4 separate regions of the Homo sapiens genome follow, and regions 1, 2 and 4 are each linked to region 3. Evidence: promoter capture Hi-C in human tissues and cell types (Jung and others, 2019). All regions are on one chromosome and are shown on one strand. Each heading gives the region's core, a stretch centred on a gene start or on the middle of the fragment in contact. The rest is flanking DNA. Distances are from core to core; before and after follow the strand shown. Region 1 overlaps MTMR7 (myotubularin related protein 7). Region 2 has its middle 23 kb from the start of SLC7A2. Region 3 holds the start of MTMR7 (myotubularin related protein 7). Region 4 has its middle 40 kb from the start of MTMR7.

The links. Contacts are between HindIII fragments. The study calls those that stand out against the background at their distance.
Region 1: a contact is called between a fragment that was not itself captured here and the fragment with the promoter of MTMR7 in region 3, in 1 of the 25 tissues and cell types used here (adrenal gland).
Region 2: a fragment that was not itself captured here is called in contact with the fragment with the promoter of MTMR7 in region 3 in 1 of the 25 tissues and cell types used here (heart left ventricle).
Region 4: a contact is called between a fragment that was not itself captured here and the fragment with the promoter of MTMR7 in region 3, in 1 of the 25 tissues and cell types used here (neural progenitor cells).

Annotation. Positions count from the first base shown.
Region 1 is chr8:17,349,445-17,355,028 of GRCh38, reverse strand. All of the region lies in intron 4 of MTMR7 (myotubularin related protein 7), which reads left to right. All of the region lies in intron 1 of LOC102724838 (a long non-coding RNA gene), which reads right to left. Among named protein-coding and RNA genes, the nearest start is that of MTMR7, 61 kb to the left of the region's middle. RefSeq lists a silencer at 5,135-5,429. The HindIII fragment of the contact is 3,773 bases long and covers 169-3,941 here.
Region 2 is chr8:17,471,573-17,477,060 of GRCh38, reverse strand. It overlaps the pseudogene ADAM24P. Among named protein-coding and RNA genes, the nearest start is that of SLC7A2, 23 kb to the left of the region's middle. The HindIII fragment of the contact is 4,731 bases long and covers 1,291-5,488 here.
Region 3 is chr8:17,410,754-17,416,660 of GRCh38, reverse strand. It overlaps MTMR7 (myotubularin related protein 7), which reads left to right and starts at 3,310. Exons shown (of 14, transcript NM_004686.5): 1 at 3,310-3,392. The coding sequence starts at 3,369. The HindIII fragment of the contact is 4,025 bases long and covers 215-4,239 here.
Region 4 is chr8:17,451,029-17,456,637 of GRCh38, reverse strand. No RefSeq gene overlaps it. Among named protein-coding and RNA genes, the nearest start is that of MTMR7, 40 kb to the right of the region's middle. The HindIII fragment of the contact is 5,181 bases long and covers 105-5,285 here.

The sequences.
Region 1 (5,584 bases), core at 806-3,305, 60 kb after region 3:
AAAACATGAGTTACTCAGCATTTCTTTTCAGAAGCAACACACAGCAAAACAAAACTAACAGCAAAACAAAACTAACAAGGAACAAACTGTTTTGAAGCAGAAAAGGTAAAAACCTAGGGGATTTTCTGATTTTGCAAATATCACCGAAATGGGAGGAAGATGATGTATCCTGATTTGTCACTAACTTAGCAAGAGAACACAAGTTGTCTTATTTCAGAAAATTTTTGACTAATAATCCATGGAGAGAGAGATATCCAAATCCATTCCTTTTGCTTTTGACCCCATGGCTGAGAAAACGTTTACTTTTTCCTCTCTTGTTTGACAACTTATCTTATTTCTTCTCACAAATCCTTTGAGGTCGGTGGGTCAGGAAGTGTCATTTGATGGAAAAGAAACAATTGTCGATGGTGGAAATAACAGCAGACGTAGAATACAAAACTTAGATTCTAGAACCAATTCTGCTATTTTCTTTGGCCTTGGGCAGGCTAATTATTACTATTATCTGTATCATCTTACCACCATCGCTATTTATAAGACACTTGCTTATGGTAGTCTAAGTCTCTAAGCTCAGATTTCTTTTTTTACCTAACCCTTGAAATTGTCTTTATTTAAATAAAGTAATTTGTATTCATTGCTAGGTTAAAGTTTTAATCTAACTCTCTTGGAATAAAATATAAAATACAACCCAAACCAGTCAGTTTATTAAAGCTCATTTATTTCAGTTCTCCACAGCTATATTTTATGTATCATGCATTATTTTGTTTTATTCACATATATGTCATTTTATCCTGTTCATAACCTCCTCCTTCTCCCTGTTCATCATAAATTCCTTGAAATAAATTTTAGCACTGAAATGTTTAAGAAGATTGTCTGTATAGATATCTCTCAGTTTCTGACAACTCTTACCCTACAGTGCTCAGATGAATGATTGGTCCTTGGAGGGCTGAGTGACACTTTTGGATTGCATCTTAGATGGCTAGTAGCCTGCAGTGATAAATATATTTACTGGAAGATTCTAACTTGGTTAACAAAGATCAGCTGTCCTGGGAGTGTGAAATCTTCAAGGCCAAAAACTCTTACTCATTTCTGCTCTTGCAGCTGAGAGTAATGCCTGGCGTATAGTAAGTACTCAGTAAAAGCTTGTTGAATGAGTGAAAGAGTTACCAAAAGATTCCCCTTGCCAGGACAGCACCAAGGGATGTGGGCACTCCAGGAAGGTCAATTAATTTAGTGGAGCACAAAGAAAATCGGTTTCCTTATTCATTTTAAAAAATGGCAAAGTGATTAACTGACTAATCCACTTTCATTAACTAAGGCAGAGTGCATGTAAAGAAAATTCAGGAGAAAAACATTTTCCATTCCTCTGAACTTCTCATATTCTCTCTGAATTTTGTCAGGTGGTTTTCCAAACCAGACAAAATCCTGAGAGGCATACTGAGGTGTTTGAAAATTAGCGACATATGTTGCATCATTGTGCGCATTATGTATTGTCAGAGTTTTGACTACAACTCTGTGAGCTTGTTGCAAAAATGGCAGCAGTCAATGCTAAGATTGTTTTCCCTTTTCTTTTTTCATTGTGATTTAAAAAATGCATAACGTAAAGTTTGCCATCTTAGTCATTTTTAAGGTATAGTTTAGGAGTGTTAAGTAGATTGACATTCTTGTACTATAATAGATCTCTGGAACTTTTCAACTCCAGAACTGATACTCTATACCCATTAAACAACTCCCCATTCCCACCTACCACAGCCCCTGGCAACCATCATTCTACTTTTTGTTTCTATGAATTTGACTACTTTAGATACCTCATATAAGTGGAATCATACAGTATTTTCTTTTTGTGACAGGCTTATGTCATTTAATGTCCTCAAGGTTCATCTGTGTTATAGCATGTAACAGGATTTCCTTCCTTTTTAGGGCTGAATAATATTTCATTGTAATGATATACCACATTTTGCTTATCCATTCATCACTTGATGGACATCTGGGTTGCTTCCACCTCTTGGCTGTGAATAATGCTCTGCGGATATGGTTGTGCAAGTATCTCTTGGAGATTCTGCTTTCAAGTCCTTTGGGCATACATCCAGAAGTGAGATTGCTGGATCATGTAGGAATTCTATTTTTAAATTCCTGAAGAGCCTCCATGCTGTTGTCCATAGTGGTTACATAATTTTATATCCCCATCCACAGTGCACTAGGGTTTCAATTTATCTGAGTGCTCACCAGTACTAGTTTTATTATGTTTTCATTCTTTCATTTTGTAATAGTGGCCATCCTAACAATTGTGAGTTAGCATCTCATTGTGGTTTTGATTTTGATTTCCCTAAGATACGCAATTTACTAATAGCTTCTCACATTCTGTAGGTTGCTTTTTCACTTTTGATTGTGTCCTTTGATGTATAAAAGTTTTTAAGTTTGATATGGTTCCATTTGTCTAGTATTTTCTTTTGTTGTCTCTGCTTTTGCTGTCATACATAATAAATCAGTGCCAACTCCAATGTCATAAAGCTTGTCCCTTATGTTCTTTTCTAGGAGTTTAATACTTTTGGGTCTTATGTTTAGGTCTTTAGTCCATTTTGAGTTAATTTTTTTATATAGTACAAGATATGACCCATCGTTATTTTATTTTACTTTTGCATGTGGGTATCTAGTTTTCCCAGTACCATCTGTTGAAGAGACTAATCTTACCCCATTGAGTAGTCTTGGCACCCATGCTATGGATCATATGACCATATACATGAGGGTTTACTTCTGGGTTCTCTATTCCATTGGCCTATTTGTCTGTCTTTATTCCAGTACCACACTGTTTGATTGCTGCAAAATAGATATGGCTTTGTACTATATTTTGAAATTATGAAGTGTAAGTCCTCTTTGTTCTTTTTCAAAATCGTTTTTTGCTATTTGGGGTCCCTGGAGAATCCATGTAAATTTTAGGATGAATTTTTCTACTTCTGCACAAAATGCCCTTGAGATTTTGATAGGGATTGCCTTGTGGTTGCTTTGTGTAGGATGGACATCTTCACAATATTAAGTCTTCCAGTGCATGAACACAGGTATCTTACCATTTACTTGTGTCTTTAATTCCTTTCAGTGGTGTTTTATATTTTCAAGGTAGGATTGTTATTTTAATTTCCACTTGAGAGTGCTGTCTACTTTGATGAAAGCAGGACAAATATCCATGCTTCTAGCTTGGTAAGAGGTTGTATCTTCCCGTGTTAACTGACACCCTAAATCTGCTTTTCTCAAATGCATTCTAGCTTCTTAGAGTTCCCCGAGCAAGTACTCATCAGAATGCCTTATAACTTAAGCTGTGACCCATGGAGCTTTTTCCCCTAGACCCAGTGCTCTGGGGAAGGCAGAAATCCTCATAACTGGTATTGTGTTCATAGAGGGGAGGCCTCCACATCTGATGCAAGCCTGGCCATTGGTGACTGGGCGCAGGTTGTTGAGCTCTTTGTCCTGGCACATGCCAAGCCATCAAAATCTACATACCTCTACTCTGCAGAGTGAGAGCTCTGGTGCTCTTAGAGGGCAGGAGGTGGTCTTCTTGCTCCTTTGTGAATCAAGAGGGCCCTGAGTTGGGGCCAAGGAGAGTGGGCCTCTGGGTGTTGATTTTCTCTGTTTGGTCTCATTCCAGCTATGGTGCACACAGGGCCTTGATGCCAGTGAACCTAGGTGTTTATTTAGCCTTAGAAGACCATAAAAGGGCCTAGCAGGAGCTTATCTCTTGCTCTTCAAAGAGGCTGTCTGAAATAAGCATGTTGACAAATCTTGCATGTTACTGTTATTTAATCATGAAACTTTGCAGTTCCTTAGTGTTGTTACAAGGAAGAATGTAGGTAATTCCCAACTTGCTGAAAACCTACTCATTTCCTTTTAAAAACTGTTATTTTAGGAAAATGTTGTTGGTCTGGTGCAATGACTACATGTCTCTTGAACCTCAAACAAACAGGTGTGGTCCACGTCATAGTCTTCTAGCTGGCTGACTTCATGGAGGTTCAGACACCAGATTGGCAAGGGGGAGGGAGTGCCGTGTTTTATGGCAGTCTTCCCAGCTAAAGCTCTCTGAGTCCAAGTTGGTTGAGCCTTCTGTTCTTGGCAGATTTTCCTTTAGAGTGTCAGTGCCACAGGCCATGTTAAACTCTTTGGTAATCTTCTTTCCTAAAATGTCTGGTAGAACCCTGAAATTAGACTTTGGGCCTGTGAACATCTCTTCTGTGGCCCTTTTATTCCCTGCTCTATGTAGTTTTCTATTCTGCTAACAAAGACAGTGGAGGTCAGCAAGGGAGGCATCATCACAGAAGACTTTATAAGAGGCTTGGATTTCAGTTGTGGGTTTTCAACCCCTACAAACCCATCTTCCAGAGTGATAAAGGTGGGTGGAGATGGACACAGGGCCTGCAGATAAAGTATTTCCCCTTGATGTGGGTTTCTGTGTCCCCACCCAAATCTCATCTTAGATCGTAGCTCCCATAATCCCAACATGTCATGGGAGGGACCCGGTGGGAGGTAATTGGATCATGGGAGCTGGTCTTTCCCATGGTGTTCTCATGATAGTGAATAAGTCTCACAAGATCTAATGCTTTATAAAGGGCAGTTCCCCTACACACGCTGTCTTGCCTGCTACCACGTAAGACGTGCCTCTGCTCCTCCTTCACCTTTTGCCATGCTTATGAGGCCTCCCAGCCATGTGGAACTGTGAGTCCATTAAACCTTTTCCTTTATAAATTACCCAGTCTCAAGTGTTTCTTTATAACCGTATGAAAATGGACTAGTACACCCCTGTTGTTAGACGTACTTGAGGACTCCCTTGAGATGACGAGGAAGATGTTTGACATCCAGGAAGTAAAGAGGTGCCTGACATATCCCAGGACACTTCCATGTGGGTGATCTTCACATTGCGAAAAGACTGATGGACTGAAGTGAAAGCAAAATGTGTTGAGCAACAGTAGCCTCAACTGCTATCACTGTTGCTACCACTAACATTTGTTTTGGATTTAGTGGTTTATAAAGTGCTTTGCCATGGGTGTTGCCGGATTTGATCCATCTGTCAACCCCATGAGATATTGTTGCTGCAGTATCACTTCTAGAGATTAGCAAACCACAGTGCACCGTGTAGTTTGGCTTCCCCAGGGTCATGAAGTTGCTCAGTCAGAGCCAGGTCCTAAACTGCTGATTTCTGGTTCTTAATTGCAAGATCCTTCCAAGGCACCCTTCCACTGTGGTAGTCACTCTCAGGAATGCGTAGAAAGAGTACATCGATCCTTACCACTTATCAACTCAACACATAAGAAACAAAAATCAAGCTGTTACATTGCGCGGTAATCTGTGGCACATTAGGAAATCTGCATGGGCTGAAAGGTCAAGGAAGAAGCTTCCCGAAGGAGGTGGAACTTCGATTGGCCCTTGAAGAACGGATGGGATTTGGGAAGGTGGAGGGCAGGAGTGTCCGGGGAGGCATCAGCTTGTGTGATGTGTCAGGGTCAGGAATGCACACTGGGCGTGTCAGAGCCACAGAGTTAACCTGCTGGCTTAACCAGTGTGCTTATGTTTTAGGAAAACTGTCTCCTGGTGTCATTCTGTC
Region 2 (5,488 bases), core at 2,407-4,906, 60 kb before region 3:
GGGAAACAATACATGAACAAAATGATAATTCCAACAAGAGATAAAAGTCATAAAAAAGTTCCAAACAGAATTTCTGGAACTAAAAAATACAATGACTGAAATGAAAAATGCAATGGAGCTTCTAAAGCAAACAAGCAGAATAAAGAAGTAGTAAACTCAAAGGCAGGTCATTTGAAATTATTCAGAGAAGAAACAAAAAAATAAAAAAGAGGGAAGAAAGCCCATGGGACTTACGTGACGTGATAAATAAAATCAGAATACGCATAATGGACTTCCCAAAGGAGAAGAGAGAGAAAGGAGCAGAAAGCTTACTGAAAGAAATAGTGACTGAGAACTTCTCAAATCTGGAGAAAGAAATAGACATTCAGATTCAAGAAGCCTGAAGGACCCCACACAGGGTTTTTGAATTTTGAAAGCAACAAGAGAAAAGCAACTCCTCATATAGAAAGGAACCTCCATAAGATTATCAGTGGATTTCTCCTGAGAAAGTGGGAGAGAGTCCAAGAGAGAGTGGGATGATATATTCAAAGTACTGAATGAAAAAAAAAAATGCCAATCAAAAATACTATACCTGGAAAAGCTATCCTTTTAAAATTAAAGAGAGATAAAATATTTCCCAGACAACAAAAACTGATGGAATTCATCACCACTAAACCTTCCTTACAAGCAAAGCTGAAGAGAGTTATTAAAATTGAAATAAAAACATGCTAAATATCATATACATAGGCATATGAAACCATACATCTCGCAGGTAAAGGTAAATATATAGACAAATATGTAGTAACATAACACTGTAATAATGGTGCATAAACTAATGTTAACTCTAATATAAAAGTTAAAAGACAAAAGTATTATGAATAACTATAACTATACGATTTGTTCATGGATATGCAATATAAAAGGAAGTGAACTCTAACTGCAATAACATAGACTGGGTGGGTGAAGCAGAAATGTAGAGTTTTTTAAATGTGATTGAAGTTGTTATAAATTTATGTAGGTGGTTATAACACAATTACAAGATATTTATGCAAACCTCATGATAGCCACAAAAAACTGTGACATATAAACAAATGATAATGAGAAAAAAGGAAAATCATTACATAAATCATCAAATACAAAAGGAAGACAACAAGAGAGGAGAGAAACAAAACAGCTGCAAAACAACTGAATGACACTAGTAAGTCCTTATATATTAATAATTAATTTAAATGTAAATACATTAAACTGCCCAGTCAAAAAGTAGAGAGTCTCTAAATGGATAAAATACAAGATCAAGAGATACACTTTCTATGAGACTCACTTTAGGTGTAGGCACAGATAAACTGACAGAGAAAAAATGGAAAAAAATATCCCACGCCATTGGTAACCAAAATAAAGCAGGAGTGGTTATATTTTTGTATCATAGAAAATAGACTTTTCTTCAAAAACTGTTACTAGGGTCAAAAAAATTGTATGGTGATAAAAGGGTCAAATCAGCAGGAAGATATAATAATGTATATACAGCGAATATCAGAACACCTAAAAATAAAAAGCAAATATTGATAGATCTGTCTATCTATCTATAGATAGACAGAAAAATGATAATATGAGACTACTTCAATACTCCACTTATAATAATGGATAGTCTATCTGGACTCAAAAAAATCAGAAATGAAAGAAAAGACATTACAATGGCTACCTCAGAAATTAAAAAGATCATAAGGAGCTATTACGAACTATACATCAACAATTTAGATAACCTAGAAAAAATGGATAAATTGCAAGAAATATGAAACATATCAAGACTGAATCAAGAGAATTGGAAAGTTGGAAGATACTGATAACAAATAAGGAGATTGAATGAGTATTCAAAAAGTTTTCATAACAAAGAAAAGCCTAGGACCAGGTGGCTTCACTGATAAATTCCATGAAACATTTAAAATATTAACAGCAATCCTTCTCAAACTCTTCCAAAACGTGAAAAAAGAAGGAACACTTCCAAACTCATTTTATGAGACCAGCATTACCCTTATATCAAAGACAAACAAAGCCACCACAAGAAAAGAATGCTACAGGCTAGTATCTCTGATGAACTTACATGCAAAAATCCTCAATAAAATACTACCAATTCTAATTCATCACCACTTAAAAATGATCATACACTCTGATCAAGTGTGATTCATTGCTAAGATGCAAGGATGGTTCAACGTATGCAAATCAATCAATGTGATGTATCAGATTAACAGAGTGAAAGATAAAAACCACCTGATCATCTTGATGGATACAGAAAAAGCTTTTGACAAAATTCAACACCCTTTCATGATAAAACCTCTCAACACATTATATATAGAAGGAATTTACCTTCTATAATAAAGGCCATATATGAAAAAACTGGAACTTAACATTACACTTAATGATGAAACATGGCAGCTTGTTTTCTAAAATTAGAAATGAGAAAAGGATGTTCGCACTATTCATTTTTATTCAACATAGTACTGGAAGTCCTTGCCAGTGCAATTAGATGAGAAAAAGAAATAAAAGCCTTCTGAATTGTAAAGGAAGAATTAAAATAATCTCTCTTTGCAGACAACATGATCATATATGTACAAAACTCAAAAATTAAATACACATACACACACAAGTTAGAACTAATGAATAAATTCCTCACTGACTCAAGACGTTCAAACACAGCTTCTTATCAAAGGTATGCTATACAAAAAGCCACCTTCAATATCAATGAAGAGACAGAAATTGTATGTATCAAAGAACTAAATGGAAATTCCTAAAATTAAAACTGTAATAACCAAAGTAAAAAGTTTCATAGAGGAGAATAGAAGATTTGAACAGACAGAACAAAGAACAAACAGACTAGAAGATAGGTTATTAGAGAGGACACAATCTGGAGAAAGGAAAGAAACAAGAAAAAGAAAAATTCAAAGAGCCTCTGAGAAATATGTGGCCCATTATCAAGCAGTGGAAGGCAATATTTTCTCCTTTTTGAAACAATTACCAACAAAGAGCTGTTTGAATATTATTTCTATTCAATTATCTCTTTTTGCTTTCTCTGGAACACCAATATTAGGGTTCTTAGAACTGTTCATGTATTCCATAAACTTCTTGCTTTCTTATTTCTATGCTTTTTTTCTGTGTGCTTTGGGGTGGGGATTTTTTCATTGGCCTGTCTTCCGCTTAATTCTGTAATCTGACTGGTACAATCTACTGTTCAATTCATCTACTGAGTTCTTATAATAAATTGTAATTTCTAGTTCCAAAATACCCATTTGATAATTTCCAATTCACTGAGGAAACTCTACATTCTCTCTTACATTTTGTACATTTTTCTCTTTTTTTGAAATGTATTTATCATAGTCATTTTTTCATGTACTTTTGCTCCCCTGTCTGGATTATCTTGATGCTATTAAAAATTTCTCCTTCTTCTTTTTTTCCTTTTTCTCTAATAACAGGTAATAATTATTTTACTGTTAGCGTAAATAGAAATGTTTTATTATATGCAGGAAGTTGTGTAGAAAAAAACTGCAGAAGCTCTAGGTGTCTTCACTAGAGATTTTCTCCTCTTTCTCCTGTTAGGAAGATAGCATGAGGAGATGATTACCTAAACCAGTCATGGACTGAACCAGGTCACCGGTAAATGAGTTTTTTATTAACGCTTGGACTAATTCTCTTTTTTTAATACTGCTCAGACGTGGGTCTGCTAGATCCTCAACTAGGAGTCTACCTGACTGTATTTCCTCAGCTTTGAAAGATGTTGGGGACGAATCACTATCACTCAAAGTTTCCACCCCAGCTGTCCAGCCTTTTGCTAAAGAAAGTTCAAAATCAGAGAAGCATCTTAAAGAGACAGTACATATGCTGGAGACAAACCTATGTCTTGTGTCCAAAATATAACATGATTTTAGCTAACTAGTCTTTTTGAGAAAATGCAAGCTAGCTCACCAGCATCCCACAACGCCCTCAAATTCAGCAAATGTGAGTTGGGGGGAAATGGTTACAAATTGAAGGTTCCAAAATGTCTAATGTTTGAATTTAATCCTGTGTAGCAATTAAGAGGATTGGTGGGTTTTTCTCTCGGCAGAGGTCCTCGGACTGGGCTAAGCCTAATCCTTACTTCATATCCCACATCAGCAAGCAAACCAGAGGAAGAAACAGCTGGCAATACTCAACTCGTTTCACAATTGCTTTCCATGCCTGAAATTTAGTTCCTCTAGTCCTCCTTGTTGCTACAGCTCTCTGATGGCTTTAAAATATGATTTTTAAAGTTTAATTGGGATTTCCCCATTTTTTTTAACCTAGGGGAAACATGATTTGCTAAAATTTATTACATCCTACATAGAATTGTAAGCATCTTCTTTATCGTATTTTATAATCAAAGTTCCAAAGGAGTTGAGTGGCAAGTGTTAATAAGCTCTTTTTAGATTTTGAAGAAATTGAAGGGGATAGTGAGAAAAATTCCAAGCTTTCTGAGATCTGACTCCTTCCTCTGTTCTCTGCTTTACCAAGGTAGGCACTGTATCACGTAGACTTCAGACAGAAAATGGGAAACCACACCACTGAGATAGCCACGAATTACTAACAAGATGTAGCTCTCATGACTAGAGTGGAGATCAAATGGAAAAGATTGGAGTTATTGGAACCTAAAGCTTTGGAAAAGGTCCCCTGGTTCTAGGACTCCAACCTTGGAGGAGTGGGTCCAGCCAACTTGGGGTTGTAACCTCTGAAATTTGGTGTAGGGCTCAAAGACCGGGGACTCAGAACTGTGAGTGTAAGCTGTTTGTAGCTGTGCTAGTATCTCTGGGGCTGGCAATACTGTTGGTTCTGGGAGTTCCTAAATATATACAAAAAATAATGCAGAGACTGAAAGCTACTGTTGCTGCCAAGGTGAAAGCTGTTACTGTGGCAGCACTGACATAAACAGGAATCAAACTGTTCGCTTAGGTTTCCAGTCTCTCTCGTTCCTCTATTGACAGAAATGAATACGGAGAGGACTGGCAAAGAATTGCGATTTGTGGGTTCCCATTTTCCATGGGCACAGTAGGGACAGGAAGAGGGCTTGGAATTGAGACCGAGCAAGCTCACACACACACACACCCCCACCCCATCCACAAGTCGTGTCTTTGCTCAGAAAAAAAAACAAAGAGAAAAGTTCCACGAAAATTGCTTAAAGTGATGAAAACTAGAAATACACTGGGAATTACCTTTCTTTAATGGTGATTGTTAATCCTGAAACATGATAGATCTCTGGGTTTTTCTGTCAGTGGTCTCTGACACCGGCAATAACATTTCTACTGCCAGGAACTAAAAATTAATACACAGGATATTTCATTAAGGATTGAGTTTCTTTTCTGAAATTGTAAAAATTTCCTATTCTGTCTCAGATGGAGTCTGAACGTTTTGCTTTTCTTTCTCAGGTGAAGTTTGAACATTTTGCTCTTCTTTCTGATGTGGTTTTTGGCTCTTACTAAGCAAAATTAACAAATGTAAACAGAGACAC
Region 3 (5,907 bases), core at 2,061-4,560:
ATATTTTATTATAAAAGGTTTTATTCTTATATGTAATCAACATATAATTGCACATATTTATGGGATACAGTGTGATATTTTGATACACATATACACTGTGTAATGAGCTAATCAGGGTAATTAGCATATCCATCACCTCAAACATTGATCATTTCTTTGTGGTGAGAACATTCAAAGTCCTCTTTTCTAGTTATTTTCAGATATACAATAAAATATTGTTAACTATAGTCACCATACTATGGAATAAAACACCAGAACTTATTCTTTCCATCTAACTGTAATTTTGTACTCACTGACCCATCTCTTCACATACCCACCTCTCCCCGATTTTCCCTAGCCTCTGGTAGCCAGTATTTTACTCTGGACGCCCATGAGATCAGCTTTTTAAGATTCCACAAATGAGTGGGATCACACGGTATGGGTCTTTCTGTGCCTTGCTTATTTCACTTATAATGTCCTCAAGGTTCATCCATATTGTCACAAATGACAGGGTTTCATTCTTTGTGGCTGGATAGTATTACACTATGTATCTCTACAAAATGTTCTTTATCTATTCATCCATTGATGGACAGTTAGGTTGATTTCATATTTGGCCATTGTGAATAGTGCTGCAATAAACATGGGAGTGCAGATATTTCTTCAACATAGTGATTTCATTTCCTTTGGATAAATACCCACTGGTGAGATTGCTGGATCGTACGGTAGCTCTATTTTTCATTTTTTGAGGAAGCTCTATACTGTTTTCTATAATGGCTGTACTAATTTACAGTCCTGCCAACAGTGCATAAGGGTTCCCATTTCTTTGCCTCCTTGCCAGCATTAGTTATTGTTAGTCTTTTTGATCATAGTCAGTCTAATTGGGGTGAGGTGATAGCTCACTGTGGTTTTGATTTGCATTTTCCTAATCATTAGTGATACTGAGTATTTTTTCATAGACCTGTTAGTCATTTGTAGGTCTCATATTGAGAAATCTCTGTTCAGTTTTTTTTGCCCATTTTTAAATCAGACTATTTGGTTTTTCTGCTGTTGAGTTGTTTGAATTCCTTTTATATTCTGGATATTAACCCCTTGGCAAATGCGTAGTTTGCAAATATTTTCTCCCCTTGTGTAGGCTGTCTCTTTACTCTGTCGTTTCCTTTATTGTATAGAAGCTTTTAAATTTAATGTAATCCCATTTGTCTCTTTCTGCCTTTGCTGCCTATGCTTTTGAGTTCTTATCCCAAAAATCCTCGCCAAGACCAATGTCTTGAAGAGTTTCCCCTATGTTTTATTCCAGCAGTTTCACAGTTTTGGGAGGAGGCTATTTTAAAGCCTTGACTGTTCACAGAGTAAACACTCTTTTCATGCTGCCCTAGAATTTCCCTTTTGGCTGCTAGAAAAAGGGCAGAGCTGACTGCAATCCACTGAGTGCTTTTCCTCCACATCTTTGTTATAGGGCAAGGCCAACAGAGACATTGATACATTGCATCATTGAGTTCATAAAAATCCTGAAGAGAGGCCGCTTTTACTTTTTGCCAGGCAGAACCCCAAATGCAGCTCTGACCCTATCATACTGAGTGACTCCAGATGAGGCTGAGTTTATTCAGAGATGTGTTCCCTCCTCCACTTATAATATGGTCCATTTGGGTTTAATTACGCTGAATAGGATCGTATTGAGTTTGTAATAATTAGCAATACCATCCCTAAGGAAACAGGGTTTGGTCTCACTGCCAAATCAGAAGTTTGCCTTGCCTCAAGAGAAATATAAGTATTCTGGAAAAAGTCTTGCAAGTGTTTTTGATAAGAATTCAAATCTCCTCAGGCCATTGAATATCACAGGATTTTGGGAAAATGCCCAGTTAAAATCAAGGTTGTATTTTAAAATTCTGTTAGCAAAAGTATTTGCAACTGAATTATCTATGTGATAAAAGTTGCATAAGAAGAATTCTCTAGAAGACGTTTGGTAACTTGCAATCAAGTAGTTTAGGTCTTGCTTATGGTTAGGTGTCCCTAGAGATCTTTAAAGGCATTACCAACTCCCTCTTTAAAAAAATCACAAACACAAAGGTAGAGACAGTGCATTATTTTGACTCTCAAATTCCCTTTCCACTTCAACATAGTATAGGCTAGGCTCAATTCAGCGTTAAAGTTCAGTGGCTTTATGTGACAACAACAACGAAAGTGTTCTTTTCACTTCCAAAAGAATCAGCTGTGGCTTTCCAGAGTAGTTCTTCTAATAATGTAAACTAATGGTAAACTTGTTCTAATTGCCTCCCAAAGCAGTAGGAGGATGAAATGGTAGAAGACCTGTGAAAGAGGGATCTGGAATTTTAAAAATAAATTCAACACCGTATTAATTATTTGCTGGAAGGCTGCAATGTGTCCAGGTATTAGATAAAAAAACGGTAAGCAGAGTCTCTACGGAAAAAAAAAAAAAATCACAATCCAGCCTGAAAGATGAGTAAGAGCGAGGAAAAAATTGAACAGAACTATGTAGAATTCTATAAAATTTCACTTATGGTGGAGCATTGTACTCTTAGGGCTGCAAGAAAAAAAAAATGGAGGGCGTTCTTCCTCTCTTTGGCTTTTCCCAAGAGGCCTAACGCTAACAATGGCACCAACTACTGTTAATACCATCAATAGGGAAATGGTACCGCATAATGGATGCTTTGTATCTCTATCTCTCAGTTCAGTTGGAGCTAAATAAAGAGGGCAAATGAGCACCCAACACTGTGCCAGGGGAAAAGTGTCGCCTGCAACAGTGAAGTCGCAGGTGGATGTGAGATGCCTGACTTAGGAGCGCGCTTACCAAGGCGCTAACACTGCTGCTATTATTTCCACCCGCACCCCGAGCGCTATGCCGGCCGCGCCTGGGATGAAACACACACATTGAGCCTACAAGACCGTCCTGGGTCTAGAGTGTCTGTGGCAGCCTTCTTTTCTGCCCCACCCTGAAATCCTAGCTATCCCAGGACGCCCTAGAAGGAAGCCCAGGGACGGTGTGGAGCAGCCTGTACTCCCCATCTCTCTTCCAGGAGGCCACACCCAAAACAAGGCCCTCTTTGTGTCTCGGAGAACAGTGGCCGTATAGTGCTCCGCCGGCTGCCCCTGTTAAGAGAGAGCGAGCAGCCCTCGCCCCGGCAACCCCAGGCAGAGGCGCGTCGCGGCGGCGGCGCAGGTGGGCGCAGGCGCGGAGGTGGGCTCTCTAGGGCCGCGCGGGAGCCCCGGGTCCGCACGCCGCGCGCGGAACACCTGGGGGCGGAGCCAAGACCGCGTCCCGCCCACTCCCGGGCGCGAAGCCCCCTCCCCGCGCCCCTCCCATCGCGCCGCAGAGGCGCGCAGGTGCGTGAGGCCGCGCCCGCCCGGGACCCTGCAGACGTGGGCCAGCCATGGAGCACATCCGTACGCCCAAGGTTGGTGACACCAGCGCGGGCGGAGGAGGGACGGGAGGAGATGGGGGAGGAGGAGGAGGGATGCTGAGCGCGCGGGAGGCCGACTGCTTTGAGGGGCACCGGCGGAGCCTGGACCGCGGGCGAGGGAGGAGCAGGCATTGCCTGAGCATCCCGGGGTGCCTGCGAGCCCGGTCGTTCTCTTGCTGCCTCCCAGGCCTAGCCTTAGCTGCTGCTGGGTCTGACCTCTTGGTTTTGGGGGAGCGCAGTGGACACAAGGGTGAACGGGAGGGAACCTCAGTTGTCTGCTAGTAACTGGGTGTAGATCAACCCTTCTTTCTCCTGGCACGAGGCTTTCTCTTTTAGCTGTTGGCCGCTCAGAGTAGTTGAAAGGGAAATAAGCCTTTCGGTGACAGGTGCAAGGAAAACGAGCTAAATGCAGAGGGACTCCTGCGCTTGGAAGCTTGTTAAATCTAGGGTGTCAGGCCCACCCGGCTCGGCCTTCCCAGTCAGCATCCTCATCCTGAGCGTAGCAGCTGCAAGGGGCCTTACACAGAACGGATAATCAATATTCATTGTAGGTTGAATGATGGTGTGTTCTTGCCTTTTCCAGTCCGTTTTGTTCGTTAGAGAAAAGGATGCAGCTTACGGATTCGTCACGCACTGTTGTGTTTTAACAACACCAGCTTTTGCTAATTAACAAAAGCAAATGGTCCCTGATCACTCCAGTAAATTAACATTGGAAACGTTGATCGCTGTACCAAATCTTCCTCCTCAGTTGTACTGATAATCTAATTTAGAATGAAAATGATGATCGACGTTACTGCATGATAAAAACCCTAAACGAGTGAAAGAATATGCTTAAAAACCCTATTGGCTGTCTGTTGTTACTACCACCACAGCTCCTTGCGTTTTTGCAGGATGAACTTCCATTCAAAATGTAGGCCCCTGACAGGTCAAAGCTAGGTCAGAGTGGCCATAGCTCAGGTGGTTCCAGGGATCCCACACATTTAAGAGGGGTGGGGGCAATTGCTTTATGGCCAGCAAGAATTGATTCCTAAATTTTGGAATAGTTCCTGAGTACCTTTTTGTAAAAGCAGATTAAAATGATCTCATGTCATTGGAAGAAGAAATCTTTTAGTTTGCTGGAGAATGTCAGTTCCGACAGTAAATTTAAATTGTATTGATTTTGCACTAGGGAATTAAGTTGTCGCTTCACAATCATGAAATTGTAAACTTAGAAGACAATGCTACAAACCACAGAATAGGTGGCTCAAAGCTTTCAGAGTTTAAGTGGTACTAAATAATTTATTCCAGAAGGGTGAATTTAACTCATGGACTCTGCCCTTGCCAAGGGCATTCTTCCTCCTTCCATGATGAAGGGAGCCGTTTGTAAAAGTGATAGCTGTTGTGGATATTGATAGCAAGAATGATACAGTGACATGGCAGTGGATGCCACTTTGTTAGAGAATATGAATTTGGGGGAGTCAAGGCCTTTTCTGTTCTATATACAAAGCCACCTGGTACAAAGTCACGTGTGAACCTGAGTTGCAAGCAGTGTTCTTACTCTTAAAATTGGTGTTTATGGATACCCTCTAAGCAGTGCAGTACTTGAAGTCAGAAATCCTTATTTATCTGGAAATGGAAACAAATTGGGGGAAAATGGAAAATTGTCTGAAGTGTTACTGAATTGGGTGAGTCATTAACATTTGGGATAAAGCTGGTGAAAAAAATAAGAAATTACAGAGGTTGGATGGATCGGATTCATTTATTCATTTATTTTATTCTACAAGCATTTAGAACCTTTCATGTGCCAGGCTCTGTGTTAAGTGCTGGAAGCGTCCAGGAACTCACAATCTCTAAGGGGAGGCAGTTGTAAATATGTCAGTGTATGATAGAGACATGTGCAAGGTGCAGTGGGTAGAGAGGGAGACTGAAGAGAGGATCAGCTCTGCCCTCAAGGTCAAGGGAAGCCTTCTTAGAAGAGCCGTCTTAACATGGAAGGACTTAAGGAGGACTAGGAGCATTTTCAACAGTGGTCATGTACTTGTATAAATATATATTGTAATAAATAATTACAACCCTAAAGAAACTGAAAACAATAACAATGGTCAAAGATAAATGATTCCTTGAGGTTAAATAACATCCTCCTTTTGTTTTACATTTTTAAGGGCAAAATTAATTTTCACAGTCTAAATGAAAAAGAGAACAACATTACTTACAGAGCTTGCAGAGTTAAATATATAATTGTTACTGGTCATATTCATCTTTATTATTTGCTTCCATTATACTTGGTGAAACTATAGGTAAATTTCCTTCGATTTCATGGTTTCATGTCTTGGGTTTGCAAGGAGTGTATACAAAGTTTGTTTTTCTGGCCCACTGTGGGTTTATAGCAATATTTACTGTGTGGGTAGTAGAGTTTTAAGAGGAAAAGAATTGTATGCATGTATAATGTACAGTTGCTTTTCTGTTACAATGGAAGTCATTCACTCGCTGTAGACTGTGTAATATCCATGACAGCCTCTGTGTTCTGCTT
Region 4 (5,609 bases), core at 1,446-3,945, 41 kb before region 3:
AATACTGATTACAAAAAGAAAAAAAAAAGGCTGAAATTTCTTTCTCAGGAACCTGATGTAAATGTTGAGAAAACTGTTGCTGGATTTTGGGAGGGGCAGGTCCCTGTTCCGTGTCCCTCTTTCAGCAGCATCAGAATGTTTTGGCCAAGAGTTTCTCAGTGCCACACCCTTGGAACCACGGTCACAGGCTTTTCCAATGTTTCCAGCCTCTGTGGCACCCGTATCCCAGACACAGATTTTAGTCACTCAAACCTTTGGCTTTTTAATCAGATCGTTGGCAAAGTTGCTATTTGCTGCTCACAAAGAATCCTGTCTTTGTGAAAAGCACACCTATAGATTTAGAAAGGTCTTTTCCCATTGTGGTTTCATGTGTAACGTGTCTTAGCAAATATTCACAGCATAGGTGCTACCCTCCAGAAGTAAATATGACCATCTACATTCATGAGGAATCAATTTTGTTAAGCCTGCTGGAAGAACACAGGACCCAAGGCTGTCAACCATGCTCAAGCCTGGTTGTGAGTAGTCATTAGACCATCAAGTGATCAAGGACCCTAGCTGGTCATAAATACCAGCCAGGAGTATCCAAAATCATCCTGTCTCATTTTACAATCACTTACACATTACTAAGTCAGTTCTTGGCCAGAATACTTTTAAAAATAGAATCCAGCTTTTATAGGTCACCATATTGGAGATTTTATTTTTAGTTTCAGAAGAATAAGACACTGGTGACTGTTGCAATTCCAAACATCACACATTGTAGGGGTTTGATCCTATAATGTTATAAACATTATAGAAATTTGATCACCATAATGCCACATAATTACCAGACTCTAGAGCTTGTATTTTATTCACCCTTTTGTTGTTGTGTTTAAGACATTTACAAAATAAGAATATTTGAATATTTAAATGAGGGATCCACTTCTAACTTTTTTTTTTTTTTTTTTTGAGACAGGGTCTCACTCTGTTGCCCAGGCTGGAGTGCAGTGGCTTGATCCTGGCTCACTGCAACCTTCACTTCCTGGGTTCAAGTGATCCTTCCACCTCAGCTTCCCCAGTAGCTGGGACTACAGGCATGCATCACCATTGTGGCTAATTTTTGTATTTTTTGGTAGATACAGTTTCACCATGTTGGCCAGGCTGGTGTCAAACTCCTGACATCATGCAATCCATCCACCTCAGCCTCCCAAAGTGCTGGGATTACAGGCATGAGCCACTGTGCCAGGCCCTCTAACATTTTTATTCAGACTTACTTTTGCTCTTTCCTGGTAGATCTTTTTGGTATTATTTTATAAAATGAAAGGCAAAACGGTGAGACACCTATTCTTTAATTAATAAGTTTATTAGCAGATAAGCTTACAGCAAAAATAATAGCAGATAAGCTGAAAGTGTTCAACATCCGTAGGTATGGTGACATGAAAAAGTTTGAATTTATTTCATCTATCACCTTGCACAGTGTGGCAAGTGGAAAGAGGCACTGTAGGTGCCAATCCAGCAATTACAGCTGGTTAAGCCTAAAACTACAAGAAAATATTCCCAATTTCTTCTTCCATGAACACATGTATCTTGTTTTGGATTATATTTTTCCACTGCATTTTGACCTTCATAAATATTTTTCAAGTCTGCTCTTTCTGTCCATATTATTATGTCTTTCTATTCCATTCTGGGAAGGAATGGGATCTGGAGTAGAAAGATGCCTCTGATTTCCCCAGGCAGAGAGAACACACCAAGGAGAAAGGTTGCGTTAGTGTTTTACCACCCTTTAAAATCGGTGCTTCCCAAGGGTCTGACCGAGACACTTATTAAAATTACTAATTCTCAATCTGGGCCTTTGAAGAGTCTTATTTGATAGGCTTAAAGTGGTACCCAGGGACTTCTCTCTCTCTCTCTCTTTTTTTTTTTTTTGAGATGGGGTCAAGCTCTGTCACCCAGGCGGGAGTGCAGTGGCACAATCATAACGCCCCGCAGCCTTGGCCTCACCGGCTCAAGCAATCCTCCGGCCTCAGCTTCCTGAGTAGCTGGGACTGCAGGTGTGAGCCACTGAATCGAGCTAATTTATTTTTTATTTTTTATTTTTATTTTTAGAGATGCAGTCTCGCTATATTGCCCAGGTTGGTCTTGAACTCCTGGTCTCAAGCAACCCTCTCACCTCGGCTCCCCGAAGTACTGAAATTGCATGCATAGGCCACTGCGCCCAGCCGGTCCTCTCATTCCTTAAGCTACTGGGACACTGTTGTCATCAGGGCAGTTTAGGATGAATTAAAGTAGGTTCAAAGAACACCTTTAAAGGATCAGGACCACCGAGGGAGGCTGTAGAGGTTGTAGTCTGCCCAGCCAAGTAGGGAGGAGTGGGACTGAAATTTTACCAGCCCTGATGGCCAAAAGGTTCTCATTGGCAAGACTGTGGGGAAACCTGAGAAATAAGGGCTCTTAAATTGGTCCACCCACCGGAGGCACCTTTTTCTCATTGGCACCACGCTGCGTGTGTGTCAGCTACTGGCCCGATCAGAATGGCCTACAGCTCTGATTATGTGCACAGATTCCTGGGTTCTTACCCCAGATCTGTTGAAACAGCATCTCTGGATTGGTTGTATTTTAAACTATCTCCTGCCACTCCCCACCACTGTGACTCTCATACACATAAAAGTTGGAGAACCACCAAGTGCTTAGATACAAAGCCTTTTTTTCTAATTTTTTTATTTTTTTTATTTTGTGAGAGTCTTGCTCCTTCACCCAGGCTGCAGTGCAGTGTCACAATCTCAGCTCGCTGCAACATCTGCCTCCCAAATTCAAGCAATTATCCTGCCTGAGCCTCCTGAGTAGCTGGGATTACAGGCACCCACCACCATACCCAGTTAATTTTTTTGTATTTTTGGTAGAGACAGGGTTTCACCATGTTGACCAGGCTGTTCTCGAACTCCTGACCTCAGGTGATATGCCCACCTCTGCTTCCTGAAGTCCTGGGATTACAGGCATGAGACACCGTGAGATCCAAAGCCCTTAAATAGCAAACTCTTTGACAGACATGACGTCATATTCTTTTCCTCCCTAATCTTTGTGGACTTTTCAACCCTCTTCAGAAGTTGCAAGCCTGAACCTGGAGGTGGAGGTTGCCATGAGTTGAGATCATGCCATCGCACTCCAGCTTGGGTGACAGATGAGGCTCTGTCTCAAAAAAAAAAAAAAGAAAAAAAGAAAAAGGAAAAAAAGAAGTTGCAGGTGGCACTGAACAGAAATTAGAAAGGACCCTAGTGCTCTAATAGTACGACCTGAAAAAGCAAAGTCCATAGGTCCTCAGTCCCTTGGGCCAAAAGGCATTCTACCAATTCCTAATACCTTTGGACCTGGAGTCTACTTATAATAAACATACAGACCCCAACTGTGACTGTCATTACTGGAGGTCAATAACCACTGCTCCTACCTGCACTGCTATGTCCATACAGAACCTATGTCTCCCTCAGTTTCCTCTTAGTTTCCACACTTTCCTGGATTCTGTTCCTTATGCTCCAGTCCTACTGCAACTCATTTCAAAGTTTGTCTCTATTCTCTGTAGATTTTGCAAGGTCCCTGAACCTCATCTTCTTTGATATTTCAACTTTTACCTGCTGCGTTGCTTTCCAACCATTGATTCTCTTTGTAGCTTTTCCTCCCCACCTCCCTGACTTCCCACCACCTGATTAACCTTTATCCACCCACAGTGTTCAGCTTTGTTCAACCTAAGTGCCAGGGACATGCCCTCAGGACATGCCCTCAGGACACACTGGCTTCCTTCCTGTGGGACAGAACAAACACCTCTGGATACCTACAGCCAGTGAGACTTCATGGGGGCTGCTCAGGTTCAGCTCTCCAGGAACAGATTTTGTTGAATTGTTTTCAATTTATTTATTTAGGTCTCTGACTTGGATGTTATTGTGTGTGAGTCCAGCACATTACACAAAGTGGTCACTGATTTAAAGCTTAGAGAAATGAGACACAAGACAAAGGTAAAAATTGAGACTCAAAGCAAAACTAAATGAACATCACTTCAGGTTTGCCTCTGGGTCTTCCGTTGTGATTTAAACTCCGCTGCCCCCTTTCTTAGAGCATTTTGATAGACTTTCCTTTTGAATCTACATCGCATGTTCCCCCTCAATCCCTGCCTTCTGAAACAGGGAATGCCTAGAAGTGCTTGTAGTTTTACCGACTTTGAGATGCCGGGAGAGATTTCTTTCCTATTTTCAGACTCCTTTTTTCATATTACTTCAGCTTGCTGCTGATTCTGCTAGGTAACCAGGTTTCTCCTACTCCAGAGTTTAGATGATTTTACTAGACATGTCTAGAAAGTAAGTTACTTCACTTATGGAATATATTGGTCTTTAATGAGTTTCTGCTTGGCTTCATCTAACAAGAGCCATAACGCAGTAGGAGATCAAAAATAATTCCTTAATGTTTTTAAATAGCTTTCCAGAGGTTAAAAAAACCCTAGATTTTGCGGAAATCATTGGTTGGGGGAAAAAAACACCACTGCAATCTACTGATTCTTCCTAGAAACAACTATCTTGTCACGAAGACTGGACAGAATGACTTGTTATTAGAAAAGGATAGTTAGAAAATGGCCATTTCTGAACATGAAAGACTACATATTATCTATTAAATGTTATTAATAAAGTGCACTATTTTCTTCTGTAATACAAGTTTTACTCTTATTAAGCAATTATTTTCCCCCTAACACTTCCCCCTAGAAAACTGGATAATGGGTGGGTAACTGTGCTGATTTTCCATATAACTGGACTCCAATAATCATTGCCAACTCTCCCTAACAGAGTTAAACGTCCTGTGACACAAATTTCCTGAAAAGCTTTGCTACGTGATGCTCTTTCAGTGGCCCTGCGTACGGAGATCAATGAGTGAAAACGAGCCCTTAGACTGAAAGTGAACCTCACAATGGAACAGAACCACCCGCCACCAGACAAGGTTCTACACGTGGTTAAGGGACCAACTGCAGTCACAGGGATGACATACCAGTGCAAGGAGTAACATTTCAAAGGAAGAGAAAGCTCAGGCCACATGCAGTCACCATGCATCACCAGCCTCAGAAGAAGGGTGGACTGGCTTATGCAAATTATCAAATTTGCTTCTGTTTCCCAGCATTGTTTTCCTTACCTGCGACTGTTTGCCTTTCATTATAGAACTAATACCACATGTTCTCACTTACAGGTGGGAGCTAAATGATGAGAATTCATGGACATATACAAGGGAACAACAGCCCCTGGGGCCTTCTTGAGGGTGGAGGGTGGGAGGAGGGAAAGGAGCAGGAAAAAATAACTCTTAGGGCCTATGCTTAGTACCAGGGTGCCGAAATAATCTGTATAGCAAACCCGCATGACATGAGTTATATATAAGAAAACTGCACGTGTACCCCTGAATCTAAAATAAAAGTTAAAAAAATGTACCCAGAGAATATGTCAAGGAAAGGGAGTTTCTCTTTGATTTGCAATACAGAAGAAAAGAAAAGCCCTTCTCTTACTCGGATAATGTGGAAAATATTTCACTGCTGTCCACGCTGTGATAGGTTGGGTTGAGAGAGCGGAGAGGCAGGAGGCTGGGAAGCCGGGAGGACTCCATGGAGCATG